Regions from separate parts of the Homo sapiens genome. Here regions 1 and 2 are each linked to region 3. Evidence: promoter capture Hi-C in 16 types of primary human blood cells and fetal thymus (Javierre and others, 2016). All regions are on one chromosome and are shown on one strand. The core of a region is centred on a gene start or on the middle of the fragment in contact, and the rest is flanking DNA. Distances in the headings are between cores, read along the strand shown. Region 1 holds the start of ALOXE3 (arachidonate epidermal lipoxygenase 3). Region 2 overlaps ALOXE3 (arachidonate epidermal lipoxygenase 3). Region 3 holds the start of SLC25A35 (solute carrier family 25 member 35).

The links. The method cuts DNA at HindIII sites, captures the fragments that hold promoters and counts their contacts. A CHiCAGO score of 5 or more calls a contact.
Region 1: the fragment with the promoter of ALOXE3 here is called in contact with the fragment with the promoter of SLC25A35 in region 3 in 14 of 17 cell types (non-activated CD4 T cells, fetal thymus, activated CD4 T cells and 11 more); the score reaches 19.2 in non-activated CD4 T cells.
Region 2: a contact is called between a fragment that was not itself captured here and the fragment with the promoter of SLC25A35 in region 3, in 2 of 17 cell types (activated CD4 T cells and naive CD8 T cells). The highest score is 8.2, in activated CD4 T cells.

What each region holds. Positions count from the first base shown.
Region 1 is chr17:8,116,886-8,121,040 of GRCh38, reverse strand. ALOXE3 (arachidonate epidermal lipoxygenase 3) reads left to right here and starts at 2,527. Exons shown (of 16, transcript NM_021628.3): 1 at 2,527-2,555; 2 at 2,738-3,197; 3 at 4,061-4,155. The coding sequence starts at 3,051. It overlaps TRK-TTT3-5 (tRNA-Lys (anticodon TTT) 3-5), which reads right to left and starts at 1,886; the gene lies at 1,814-1,886. TRQ-CTG1-5 (tRNA-Gln (anticodon CTG) 1-5) reads right to left here and starts at 1,289; the gene lies at 1,218-1,289. It overlaps HES7 (hes family bHLH transcription factor 7), which reads left to right. Exons shown (of 4, transcript NM_001165967.2): 4 at 1-449. It also overlaps TRL-TAG1-1 and TRR-TCT2-1. RefSeq lists silencers at 591-800, 1,171-1,260, 1,391-1,440 and enhancers at 1,961-2,060, 2,211-2,280, 2,361-2,440, 2,162-3,361. The HindIII fragment of the contact is 2,695 bases long and covers 1,215-3,909 here.
Region 2 is chr17:8,100,659-8,104,854 of GRCh38, reverse strand. ALOXE3 (arachidonate epidermal lipoxygenase 3) reads left to right here. Exons shown (of 16, transcript NM_021628.3): 14 at 640-740; 15 at 1,362-1,532. Among named protein-coding and RNA genes, the nearest start is that of MIR4314, 15 kb to the right of the region's middle. The HindIII fragment of the contact is 4,448 bases long and covers 184-4,196 here.
Region 3 is chr17:8,293,268-8,297,397 of GRCh38, reverse strand. It overlaps SLC25A35 (solute carrier family 25 member 35), which reads left to right and starts at 1,998. Exons shown (of 5, transcript NM_001320870.2): 1 at 1,998-2,965. The coding sequence starts at 2,591. RefSeq lists enhancers at 1,379-1,508, 2,129-2,178, 2,199-2,278. The HindIII fragment of the contact is 5,205 bases long and covers 1-2,349 here.

The DNA of each region.
Region 1 (4,155 bases), core at 1,278-3,777, 180 kb after region 3:
GGATAAAAAGGAAAAATTGAAATAAAATCGACTCTGGTGGGATTCGAACCCACAACCTTTGAATTGCTCTATTCGTCACTAGAAGTCCAATGCGCTATCCATTGCGCCACAGAGCCACCCGACGAACGGCGGCGTCTTGTAGCTTACGGGTACTAGAGTGGGAATGGGGCAGGGTTGGGGAGCGGGGCTAAGGGACTTGGGCGGGACATGCCAGGAGGGCGCGGTTTGGATCTCAGAGGCCAAGCCAGGTAGAGGTAGCGGGCGCAAAGCATGTTAGCCAGGTGAGAGAGAGGGCGCACATGGGTCGAAAAAACAGGGAGGGAGAGCAACCGAAAATGGCTGAGCGAGCGAGTGCAGAGCTCCGGCTGCCCGCTTGGGGGGTGTTTCCGGCTCAGGCGCTCCCCACTCCCAGATATAGTCCCACCCAAATAAACTAGTTTTGTTGTAAATTTCTGTGTGTTTTTGTCTCTTCTCGTTTATCTGTTCTGCCATCTGCTGCTATGCGGTCCACAGTCTCGATGGTTCTTCATTTCCAGTCTAAAAGATGTGGAAAAGGAGACGAATCAATTTGGCACTCTTAAGATTTGCCCCATTCCTTACTTCTAGTCTCTTAGGAGGACAACGGGGACAGTAAGTTTTCGTGCAGGTAGCGTGGCCGAGCGGTCTAAGGCGCTGGATTTAGGCTCCAGTCTCTTCGGAGGCGTGGGTTCGAATCCCACCGCTGCCAGGCTGGAGTTTTTCTGGTGGATTACGCACCTGCTACAGTTCTGTTAACAGTTCTGTGAGGTTACACCTATTTACATGCAGAAAGTAATTTTACGAATTCCCCTGGTAATGGTTTCACCATCATCTTCCGTGTTTGGTCTTCCAGAGAGATCATAGGCCTGCATCCATCCCAGAAGCTAAGACCTGATGGTAACTGCTGAAGCAATATTTCGTTTCTTCATAACATCTCTATTATTTCGTTTCTTCATAACATCTCTATTTTAACATGTTTTCAAATGTTAGCTCAACTTCCAACATATTTAAATAATTTATTGTACGTTCTCTTAACACTGTGTTATAGGACTCAATTATCCGGTAGGAAAAGCACAAATAATTGGTAGTGTCCTAGTTTACTTTTTTTTTTTGTCGTATTATCTTGGGTCATAGGAGTATCCCCTCTGTGAAAATCAATTAACAATATTCAACATGCTGATATTAAAAGAAAAGCTTCAAGGTTCCACCGAGATTTGAACTCGGATCGCTGGATTCAGAGTCCAGAGTGCTAACCATTACACCATGGAACCTCCCTCGTGGTGTCTTTCAAGATTGTGTACATTACTGGACATTCTATTTTGCGTGTCTTCCACACCCGTCACTTAAAACGAAAACAAAACAAAGTCTGCTGTTGGATATGGTAGACACCGTTATCGAGCACTTGAAATATATGAATTCAGATGTATTGCCAGCTTCTAAATACACATCTTCTTTTGAAGGAAGGCTTTGTACAAACAAAAAGACTTAAAATTTCATTAATATTTTTAGAATGTTGATTATATGTTAAAATAAGATTTTGGTATATTAGGGTAAGTAAAATAGATCCGTGAAATTAATTTCGCTTGCTTTTTATTCTTTGTAATGTGGCTACCAGAAAATGTAAATTCGATAATACGGCTCGCGTTTGTACTGTTTTAAAGTATGTTTATTACCCTCCACCGTCGTTTGCTGTATTTTGTGGAAATCAAGTTTCTGTATCACCTAGCTTTAAAAACTAGTAACTATTTTTGTTACCATTTTATGCGAAGTGCGGTACCCAAAAGCAAAGACATGCCGCCCGAACAGGGACTTGAACCCTGGACCCTCAGATTAAAAGTCTGATGCTCTACCGACTGAGCTATCCGGGCTCTTCACGAGAGCTTTACTTTTTGCTTATAAGAGGGTTCTCTATAGGAAAAGCCAGGCTTGTAGAACCGACAGAGGATTTTATCTGTGCAGCATAGAATATTTTGGCACAGATTTGGAAGCAGCGGGTGAAGCTCGCCTGCTGCTGATTGAGCTTTTTCTGCCTCCCGTTCTTAGAGCCCCCGCCGAGGCTGCGACGCAGGGACTGTACCATAGTAGAGGCTGGAACAGTGCGGCGCCGGAACCGGCCGCGCGGGGCCGCTGCGGGCTATGGGCTTCTCTGAGAGGTTCCTCCCCAGTCCCTAGTGGCCCAGATCCCGGACACCTGGGCTCCCGCCCAGGATCCTGCAGGCCCAGGGCGGTCCTGGAGCGGAAAGAATGCCACGCGGGGCATTCAGACCCTGTTTGCCGGCGCTGTATTTCGCTTTCCTGACCTGCCCTACTCCAGAGCAGAGAATGAGGTCGGGCGTGCCAAAGGCTGGGGACAAAGAGGGCCATGCGTGGGGGGATCGGTGTATGGGGTGACAGGGAGCTGTTCCTGACCATTTGACATGTGCTGGAATGCGTGTGCGACTCACCTGCGTGTGGCTGCAGTCACGTGTGATTTATGACCAAGTGCAACTCTCCACTGTTTAGTGATTCACACGGATGATTCACACGTAGGAATGCAGGTGCCCTGTGCTCATCTCTGCCTGGGAATGGGGAGGAACAGATCTTGGGGGACATTGGGGAGTGGGCGGACAAGCACTCCAGGGCATCAGTCCGGGCCGCTGACCAGGCGGAGGGCAGTGTCCCAATTATACAGGCGTTACCTCCTTTTCTCCATCTCAGCATCTGATCCCTCCCTCCGCAGTGGAACCCAGGCTCCTGATATCCATCTGGGTGAGCCAGCCAGAGGGACCGGCTGTGTCAGAGGCAAGCAAACAAGTATTAGAGTGCAAGACTGTGGGCGGAGAGAGGAAGCCCGAGCCGCCAGCAGGGAGCTTCGGAGAGAGAAAGCCCAGGAACATCCCAGAGAGAGCTGGGCCCATCCTCAGCCCTACCCAGCCCCGCAGCCCCTAGCCCTCCGCCCAGAAACCCAGCCCTGTCCGGCGTGCCGCTCTTCTCCTCCAGGCCGGCTGCTGCTGCGGCCAGCGTTGCCGGGGCATCCCTTCCTCCTTCCCATCATGGCAGTGTACCGCCTGTGTGTGACCACTGGTCCCTACCTGAGGGCCGGCACACTGGACAACATCTCTGTCACACTGGTGGGCACGTGTGGTGAAAGCCCCAAGCAGCGGCTAGATCGAATGGGCAGGGACTTCGCCCCTGGATCGGTGAGTACAAAGGAGACAGGGAAGCGCGACCTCAGAGGGGCAGGGGCCGCAGGCGGGAGGAGTATTCCTCCTGGACTCTTGAGATCCTGCTGAACTCAGGATACCGGCCCTGACCTCCTCACCTTCCCTATTGAGGTCCCTGTCTTTCCTGGAGATGATGAACTCCATCCAGGCAGGACTGTGGAGAGGAAGGAGCGTTGGACAGGGAGTAGAGGGACTTCCCCTGGCTCCTAAACTCCTCCCATAATTGACCGTGGGCTTTGGGCAAGTCGCTTCCCCTCTCTGAGCCTGGGTTTCCTCTTATCGAGGGGATCTGCCTGCCTCTGCCAGCCCCAGGTGGCCTCCACAAGAGTTCCCAGCCGGCCTAGGAAGCTAGTGAAATGCAGTGCCCACTGTGCTCGGGCACCTTTTTCTTTTCTTTTTGAGATGGAGTTTTGCTCTTGTTGCCCAGGCTGGAGGGCAGTGGTGTGATCTCAGGTCACTGCAACCTCCACCTCCCGGGTTTAAGCGATTCTCCTGCCTCAGCCTCCCAAGTAGCTGGGATTACAGGCGCCTGCCACGACGCCCGACTAATTTTTTGTATTTTTAGTAGAGAAGCGGTTTCATCGGGCAGGCTGGTCTCAAACTCCTGACCTCAGGTGATCCACCCGCCTCGGCCTCCCAAAGTGTTAGGATTACAGGCGTGAGCCACCTCTCCCGGCCCGGGGAAGCTTTTTCTAATTCATACAAAAGCCCGGTATGGGCTGGGAGCAGCTCAGGTTTGTATGCCCGAATAGGCTTAGGTGTAGATGCATCTTGCAAGGCGCAAGGACCGCCTTGGCAGTTCCCCGCCTCTCACCTGCTTGCTGTCTTGGTCCCCTCAGGTACAGAAGTACAAGGTGCGTTGCACAGCGGAGCTGGGTGAGCTCTTGCTGCTGCGTGTACACAAGGAGCGCTACGCTTTCTTCCGCAAGGACTC
Region 2 (4,196 bases), core at 1,158-3,657, 190 kb after region 3:
TCCCCTCTCCAATCCTGAAATGCTTTTCTCTGTTGTCTTTTTTCCATTGGAGGCTCATCCATCTTTCAACTCACAAGGCCCCTCTTGTCCTCCAGGAGGCCTCCACTAACCACTCTGCTCCTGGTGCCCCTTTCTGCCCTGCTTGCCCTCTCCTCAAAGAGCCAAGCTCTGGTCTTAGAAGCTTCCTTCTGCTTCTGTTACTGTGAGCTTTTCAGTAACACGCCCTCTGCGTGGGTCTCTGCTGCTAAGCCCAGCAGAGGATGGTTGGATACTGGGTGCTTGAACAAATCTTGGTGAACCGGGTAGGATTAAATCATTACATCCTAATAGGGGCTGCAGATTGAAGTGCCTTGGAAGTCAGGGAGAGGCAGCTGGGCACTTGGGCTTGAAGCTGCCTCTGTCATTGGCCCTGCCTGCCGGGGATTTTCTGGCCAGATCCCAGCCCCCATCTCCTATCCTGACCCACTTCAGAGACCACAAATCTTGGTGGTGGCCATCCCTAACCAGCCCGACAAGACAGTCATGGCTCGGTGTTCCCTACTTCCTCACTTTCCCCCTGTGGTGAGCCCCAGTCCTGAGCTGGCCCTAGGAATCCAGTACCTTCCATCCACACCCTCTACCCTTCCTCCCCACACCCAGGTTTCCCAAGCCGGCTGTGCACCCCAGGAGAGATGGTGAAGTTCCTCACTGCAATCATCTTCAATTGCTCTGCCCAGCACGCTGCTGTCAACAGTGGGCAGGTGAGGCTACAAAGGGCAGGCCTGGGGACATCAGGTCTCAGCAATGGACTTGAGGCCTGAATTTGGGTTGAGAGCTTGGGTGGGTCAGCGTTGGGGTGGGTTTATGATTAGACTTGGGGTTGGAGTGGCAGCTGAGTGGGGTGAAGGGTTGGCATTGGGTGATGACTGGGTGGAGCTGGGTCCAAGGTTGTAATGGTGATTCAAGTTGATGTTAATTTGGGAGAAGAACTTAGGGGCTCCTCTCATGGTTAGAACCCAGCCAGGTGGAGTAGCAGCTTGCTCTGTGTGGCATGGCAACCCAAGGCCCTTTTCTAGGATTACCTCCACTCTGGGGCCACCTCCTTCCCTAGTGACTCACCCCACCGAGTCCTGGAACACTGGGCGGGGAGTGACAAGGAGTAAGCTGGCTTCCTGCCCCACTTCTGGGACTTTCCACTCCCTACCCTTTCCTCTCTTGCCTTTCCATGATCCCCTCATTTCCCAGCTCTCTTGCCTTTCCGTGATCCCCTCATTTCCCAACTATCACCTCTAGGACGGCAGAGGTGGAATCAGGGATGGTGAAGAGGGAGGTGATACTCCCCTTCTGGCCAACTGACCCAACTGGGATGGGGGTCTCCACAGCATGACTTTGGGGCCTGGATGCCCAATGCTCCATCATCCATGAGGCAGCCCCCACCCCAGACCAAGGGGACCACCACCCTGAAGACTTACCTAGACACCCTCCCTGAAGTGAACATCAGCTGTAACAACCTCCTCCTCTTCTGGTTGGTTAGCCAAGAACCCAAGGACCAGGTGTGTATACGGGATGTTGAGGGGAGTAGGGTTCTTTAGGGCCACCAGTAGGGGTGGTGGTGGCTTCGTCTGGGGGCTTGAGGACTGATCGACGGGATTTATGTTCACTGCAGAACTGCCTTGGGTTCTTCAATTTCTTCAGAAAATGATAATCCCAAAAGACATAGACTGAAGCAAATACCAGTTTAGTTACCAATCTGTCCGTCCATCCATTTATCCGAATGTTCATTCATCAACTACTCATGTGTTAATGCAAACATTCAATAAACATTTGTTGGATACTTCCTATGTGTCCACACAGCACTGGGCACCAGGCCTATAACGCTGGCTGAGACCTTCCTGCCTTCAAGAAGCCTGTGGTCTAGTTGAGGAGACATACAGGTCAATGAAAAAGGGCACCACCGTGTTGTAGGAGTTACTTATATGTTAATTTCTCCATTCAACACACACTTCCTGAGTACCAGTGGTGACCCAGACACTGTTATGGGCAGCTATGAAACTTGTCCATGTGAGCTTACAGTCCAGTGATAGGGGTAAGGACAGGGCCCTGAGGAACCTAAATGGGTCTGGGGGAACCCAGGAAGGCTTCTTGGAGAAAGTGACATCTAAGTTGAAATCTGCAGGACAAGTAGGAGTTGGACAGAGAGGAAGAGCAGGGCTCTTTTTTAGGGAGGGGGAAGAACAGGACCAAGGAGCGAAGGCGAGAAATCACTGGTGTGTTTGTAGGATCACAAATGGAAATAGCAGAGCGGAGAGGAAGGTAGGGCTTTGTCTGCACAGTGTTCGTTTAGAAGACAAAGGGTAGCCAATCAAGGCTTCCCCCACCCCCCCACATGGAGTCTTGCTCTGTCACCCAGGCTGGAGTGCAATGGTGCGATATCAGCTCACTGCAACCTCCGCCTCCCAGGTTTAAGCGATTCTCCTGCCTCAGCCTCCCGAGTAGCTGGGATTACAGGCACCCACCACTGTGCCCAGCTAATTTTTGTATTTTTAGTAGAGATGGGGTTTCACCATGTTGGCCAGGCTGGTCTCGAATTCCTGACCTTGTGATCCACCCATCTTGGCCTCCCAAAGTGCTGGAATTACAGGTGTGAGCCACCGCGCACGGCCGCCAATCAAGACTTTTAAGCCTGAGGCCCAATGGTTAAATCTGCTTTAGCTAGGGTGCTCCTGTGGCTGCGTGAATGGATGCAAAGGGCAACTTTGGAGGCAGGAGGCTAGAGAGGGGCCAATATCTGAGTTTAGGCCAGGCAAGTAGCCCTTTATCACTGGTTCCCATCATCTTTGTTTCCACCCAGCCGTCTTGCACACAAGCTCTCTAACAGGTGAATATTCTTATTTCTCACGCTTGACTCCCTTTGGTGCTGGAAAGATTCCAGATGTTGCTGGGCACAGTGGCTCGTGCCTGCAATCCCAGCACTTTGGGAGGCTGAGGCCGGTGGATTGCTTGAGCCTAGGAATTCAAGAGCAGCCTAGGAAACATGGTGAAACCCTGTCTCTACCCAAAACACAAAAATTAATCGGGCGTATTAGTGTGTGCCTGTGGTCCCAGCTGCTTGGGGGGAGCTAAAGTGGGAGGATCACTTGAGCCCAGGAAGTAAAAAAATGCAGTGAGCCATGTTCACGCCACTGCACGCCAGCCTGGGTGACACAAAAACAAAAAACAAAAAACAAAAAAACAACAAAAAAAGAAAGATCCCACATATTTGATCTTCCTGGCAAGTTTTAACTTGCTACCTTATATCCTGGGAATGGCAGGACTCTGGGTCCTGTCCCTATCTGGTCCCAGAGGGATGACAGATAAGTAGACAACAGCATGAGGGTGGAGGGCTCTCTCCTATAAACTATAGAAAGTTTAACTTGGAAATTTATAACAACAATAATAATGGCAGCTGTCACTGAGGAGCCATCATGTCTCAGTTATTAAATCAGATCCTTTGTGTACATGATTTTAAAATGTGAACCAAATACATAGCTCTATTTAAAATGCTTGGCAGCCAGGCGTGGTGGCTCACGCCTGTAATCCCAGCACATTGGGAGGCCGAGGTGGGTGGATCACCTGAGGTCAGGAGTTCGAGATCAGCCTGGCCAACATGGTGAAACCCCCATCTCTACTAAAAATACAAAAATTAGGTGGGCATGATGATGCATGCCTGTAACCCAGCTACTCAGAAGGCTGAGGTAAGAGAATCACTTAAACCCGGGAGGCAGAGGTTGCAGTGAGCTGAGATGGTACCACTGAACTCCAGCCTGGGCAACAAGAGTGAAGTTCCATCTCAAAAAAAAAAAAACAAAAAAAAAGCAGCTTGGCACCGTGCTGGCATATAAATGTTCAATAAATGGTAGTTCCACTTCACAGGGGAGAAAACTGAGGTTCAGGGAGATTCAGCAATTTGTTCAACAGCACAGAGCTAGTAAGTAGGCTTTGAATCCAGTGTCATATTTCTGTCTTCTGCTGTGTTTTCTCTTTCTTTCTCTGGTGTGTGTGTGTGTTCTGTTTTTTTGATGGCTATACTACAGTTTTAGAAATCAAGTATTAAGCCAGGTGCAATGGCACAGGCCTGTAGTCCCAGCTACTCAGGAGGCCGCAGAGAGAGGATTCCTAGAGGCTAGGAGTTCAAGGCTGCAGTGTGCATGACCATGCCTGTGAATAGCCACTGCACT
Region 3 (4,130 bases), core at 749-3,248:
TGGAGAAATGGCTGATTGCAGGACTGTGGCAGGAAATACACAAAATGAGCCTGGAGCATTTTATAGTACCAGAAAGTAAGGTGACACTAAATAAAAACAAGGTTTTAATTAAAATACCAATGATGACAACAACACTGATGGGACTCTTATTTTTCTCCCTGGTTGAGGATTGACCGCCATCATGAATGACTTAGTAACTATCTGAACTAGGAAGTTCATGATCAACTGACTACATACTTCAGGAGGAACAAATGGTTATTGAGGTCCTTCACCCTGGGAAGACAACAGTACCTAAGACAGAAATTCAGGAAAAACTAGCCAAAATGTATGAGACTACACTAGATGTCATCATCTTTGTTTGTTTTTGTTTGTCTTTATGAGATGGAGTCTCCGTCTGTCACCCAGGCTGGAGTGTAGTGGCGCAATCTCGGCTCACTGCAACCTCTGCCTCCTGGGTTCAAGTGATTCTCCTGCCTCAGCCTCCCGAGTAGCTGGGATTACAGGTGCCTGCCACCACACCCGGCTAATTTTTGTAGTTTTAGCAGAGACAGGGTTTCACAATGTTGGCCAGGCTGGTCTCAAACTCCTGACCTCATGTGATCTGCCTGCCTCTGCCTCCCAAAGTGCTGGGATTACAGGCGTGAGCCACCACGCCTGGCCTCATCTTTGTATTTGGATTCAGAACTCATTTTGGTGGTGGCAAGACAACTGGCTTTGGCATGATTTATGATTCACTGGATTATGCAAAGAAAAATAAACCCAAATGCTGACTTCCAAGACATGGCCTGGATGAGAAGAAAAGAACTCAAGAAAGCAATGAAAGGAACACAAGACCAGAATGAAGAAAGGGGGACTGCAAAGGACAGTGTTGGTGTGGCAAAAAGCCAAAGGAGTAAAGATGCTACAGTAACATCTGTGGCCACTGTGGATTTTTCACAAGATTTATAAACTAAAAACTTTTGTGTGCAAAAAAAAATGGATGGGGGTATGCTAAAGAGACACAGGAGCCAACGGAAACAGCTCTCAAAGGCCAAAGCTAGAACGAAATTAGCTAGAAAATAAATATGAAGTATATTGGATTATAACCCAAAGTATAAATGTCCATGAGTCCATACTGATTAAATAAATGGTTGAATAAATAATGGAGGAGTAGAGACAAATATCTCATATGAAAGAACTCCAGGCCAGGGATGGTGGCTCACGCCTGTAATCCCAGCACTTTGGGAGGCTGAGGCGGGTGGATCACGAGGTCAGGAGATCGAGACCATCCTGGCTAACACGGTGGTCTCTATTAAAAATACAAAAAATAAGCCGGGCGTGGTGGCGGGCACCTGTAGTCCCAGCTACTTGGGAGGCTGAGGCAGGAGAATGGCGTGAACCCGGGAGGCGGAGCTCTCAGTGAGCTAAGATCGCGCCACTGCACTCCAGCCTGGGCGACAGAGCGAGACTCCGTCTCAAAAAAAATAAAAAATAAAAATAAAGAGCCTAAGGACTAAGGATTTAATTAACCAAGCACCAACCCGTGCAGCCTCAGGAGACTGGTCCCGCAGCGCAAGTGTGTCCCTCTACCCCCCGCAAGCCGGGCCGCGTCTTCCTGGCTCTCCTGGCGCCGGCACCGAGCAGGGCGTGGACCTGAACTTATGTGACCCCACCCGGTCACAACCCGGGGTAGGAAGCTAAAGCCGTCCGCCCACCCGAGGGGCGGTCCCAGCACCCCAGTGGGGGACTGCTGCGCTCGGCCTCTGTGTTCGATCGGGAACCCAGGTCTCTTCCCTGCCAATAACAAAACCGCCGCGTCCCGGGCCTCCCTTCCGGAGCCGGAGTCGGCGGCCGAGCGCTGGTGGCGGAGCCTGGACAGTTAATTCCAACCGCCTCCGGGTGATTCCGGGGACAGGAGCGCCGAGAGCTCCTCCCTTTGGCCGCGGAGCCGGCTCGGCGCTGATTGGCTGAGGGCCTCGGTTGTGGCTCTTGAAGGCTCCCCATTGGCCCCGCGCTCCAGTGGCAGGAGTGTGGCGGCCCGGCCTCCGCAGGCTACCCGGGGTTGAAGCTACTGCGAGCTCCGGTGGCTGCCTGGGGACGCTCAGGGACGCTCATTCCTGGCCAGAGTCCTGACTTCTTTCTCGGATCGAGATCTCGTTGCTGGCTCGAGGAAATCACCGGCTCTTCTCCCGGATCCTTTTCTTCTCTCACTTGCTGGCTTTCTTCTTCCTGCCTCCCTGGCTTCCATCTCCCAACCCCGCGATTCCCTCCTCTACTCCCGTGCTCCCGTCGCCCGCCATCCTGAGCCATCCCACCTGCAACCTTCTGTCTTTTGCCCCTCCTTGACCTCAGAGGGTCCTGCCTTAAGCTTCTCACCAGAATCTCCTAGATTTCTATCTCTTCCCTGCTTGCCAGCTCTTGACTCCCAAATTCCAGCTGACGTTTGACCACTTGACATTTGACCCTGACACCCTTGACTGCAAATCTAAATTCTTATCTTCTGCAACCTGTACTGCTGAAACAGGCCTTCCCCCTGTCTTCCAACCCCGCTTTCTGACACCCATTTTTACTTTCTTACTCTTGGGTCAGTTCCTGCTACAGCTATCCCACCATGGACTTCTTGATGAGTGGCCTGGCAGCCTGCGGGGCCTGTGTATTCACCAATCCCCTGGAGGTGGTGAAGACCAGGATGCAGTTGCAAGGAGAACTGCAGGCCCCTGGCACATACCAGCGGCACTACCGAAATGTCTTCCATGCCTTCATCACCATCGGCAAGGTGGATGGCCTTGCTGCCCTGCAGAAAGGCCTGGCCCCCGCCCTCTTGTACCAGTTCCTGATGAATGGCATCCGACTGGGCACCTATGGGCTGGCTGAGGCTGGGGGCTACCTGCACACAGCCGAAGGCACCCACAGTCCTGCCCGCAGCGCAGCAGCTGGGGCCATGGCTGGGGTCATGGGAGCCTACTTGGGGAGCCCCATCTACATGGTAAGAAGAGGGCTCTTGCCTGGGACCTTCAGGGCAGATCCTCGTTGTAGGATAGGAGCTGTTCTTTCCCAAGGGCATAGGTGGCAGAGTGCTGCCCCACTGCAAGCAGGGAAAGGCATCAGGAAAGTGCTGGTAGGCTTCGGAGTCTTCTGATCTGCCCTATACACACCCATCTGATGGACACGATTGAATGTATTGATTAAGATTATGGGCTTTGGGGCCGGGTGCAGTGGTTCACACCTGTAATCCCAGCACTTTGGGAGGCCAAGGCGGGCGGATCACGAGGTCAGGAGATGGAGACCATCCTGGCTAACACAGTGAAACCCCGTCTCTACTAAAAATACAAAAAATTAGCCGGGTGCGGTGGTGGGCGCCTGTAGTCCCAGCTACTCGGGAGGCTGAGGCAGGAGAATGGCATGAACCCGGGAGGCGGAGCTTGCAGTGAGCCGAGATCCGGTCACTGCACTCCAGCCTGGGCCACAGAGCAAGGCTACGTCTCACAAAAAAAAAAAAAAAAGATTATGGGCTTTGGAATCAGACTTTCTGGAACTAAAATCCTGGCTTTGAAAATTACTAGTTGTTGGCCGGGCGCGGTGGCTCACGCCAGTAATCCCAGCACTTTGGGAGGCCGAGGCGGGCGGATCACGAGGTCAGGAGATGGAGACCATCCTGGCTAACACGGTGAAACCCCGTCTCTACTAAAAATACAAAAAATTAGCCGGGCGTGGTGGTGGGCGCCTGTAGTCCCAGCTACTCCGGAGGCTGAGGCAGGAGAATGGCCTAAACCCAGGAGGCGGAGCTTGCAGTGAGCTGAGATCCGGCCACTGCACTCCAGCCTGGGCCAGAGAGAGAGACTCCGTCTCAAAAAAAAAAAAAAAAAGAAAAGAAAGAAAATTACTAGTTGTTGAGCTTCAGTTGCCACATCTGTAAAATGGTGATAATTATAGTGCCCTTTCTGTGTGATTATTGGGAGGATCGAGGGAGACAAATGCGGTAGACATGAAAGCATTAGTGCGAATCCTGGCAGACAGTAAGCATTTGGTAGCATTTGTTTTTATTATTATGTGTTGATATTGAGGTTGGATTTGTGAAGGGGAGGATAAGGAATTTAACATACGTCAGAGAGTCTAGGGATCAGGAAGGCCCTGGGCATCACAGAATTAAC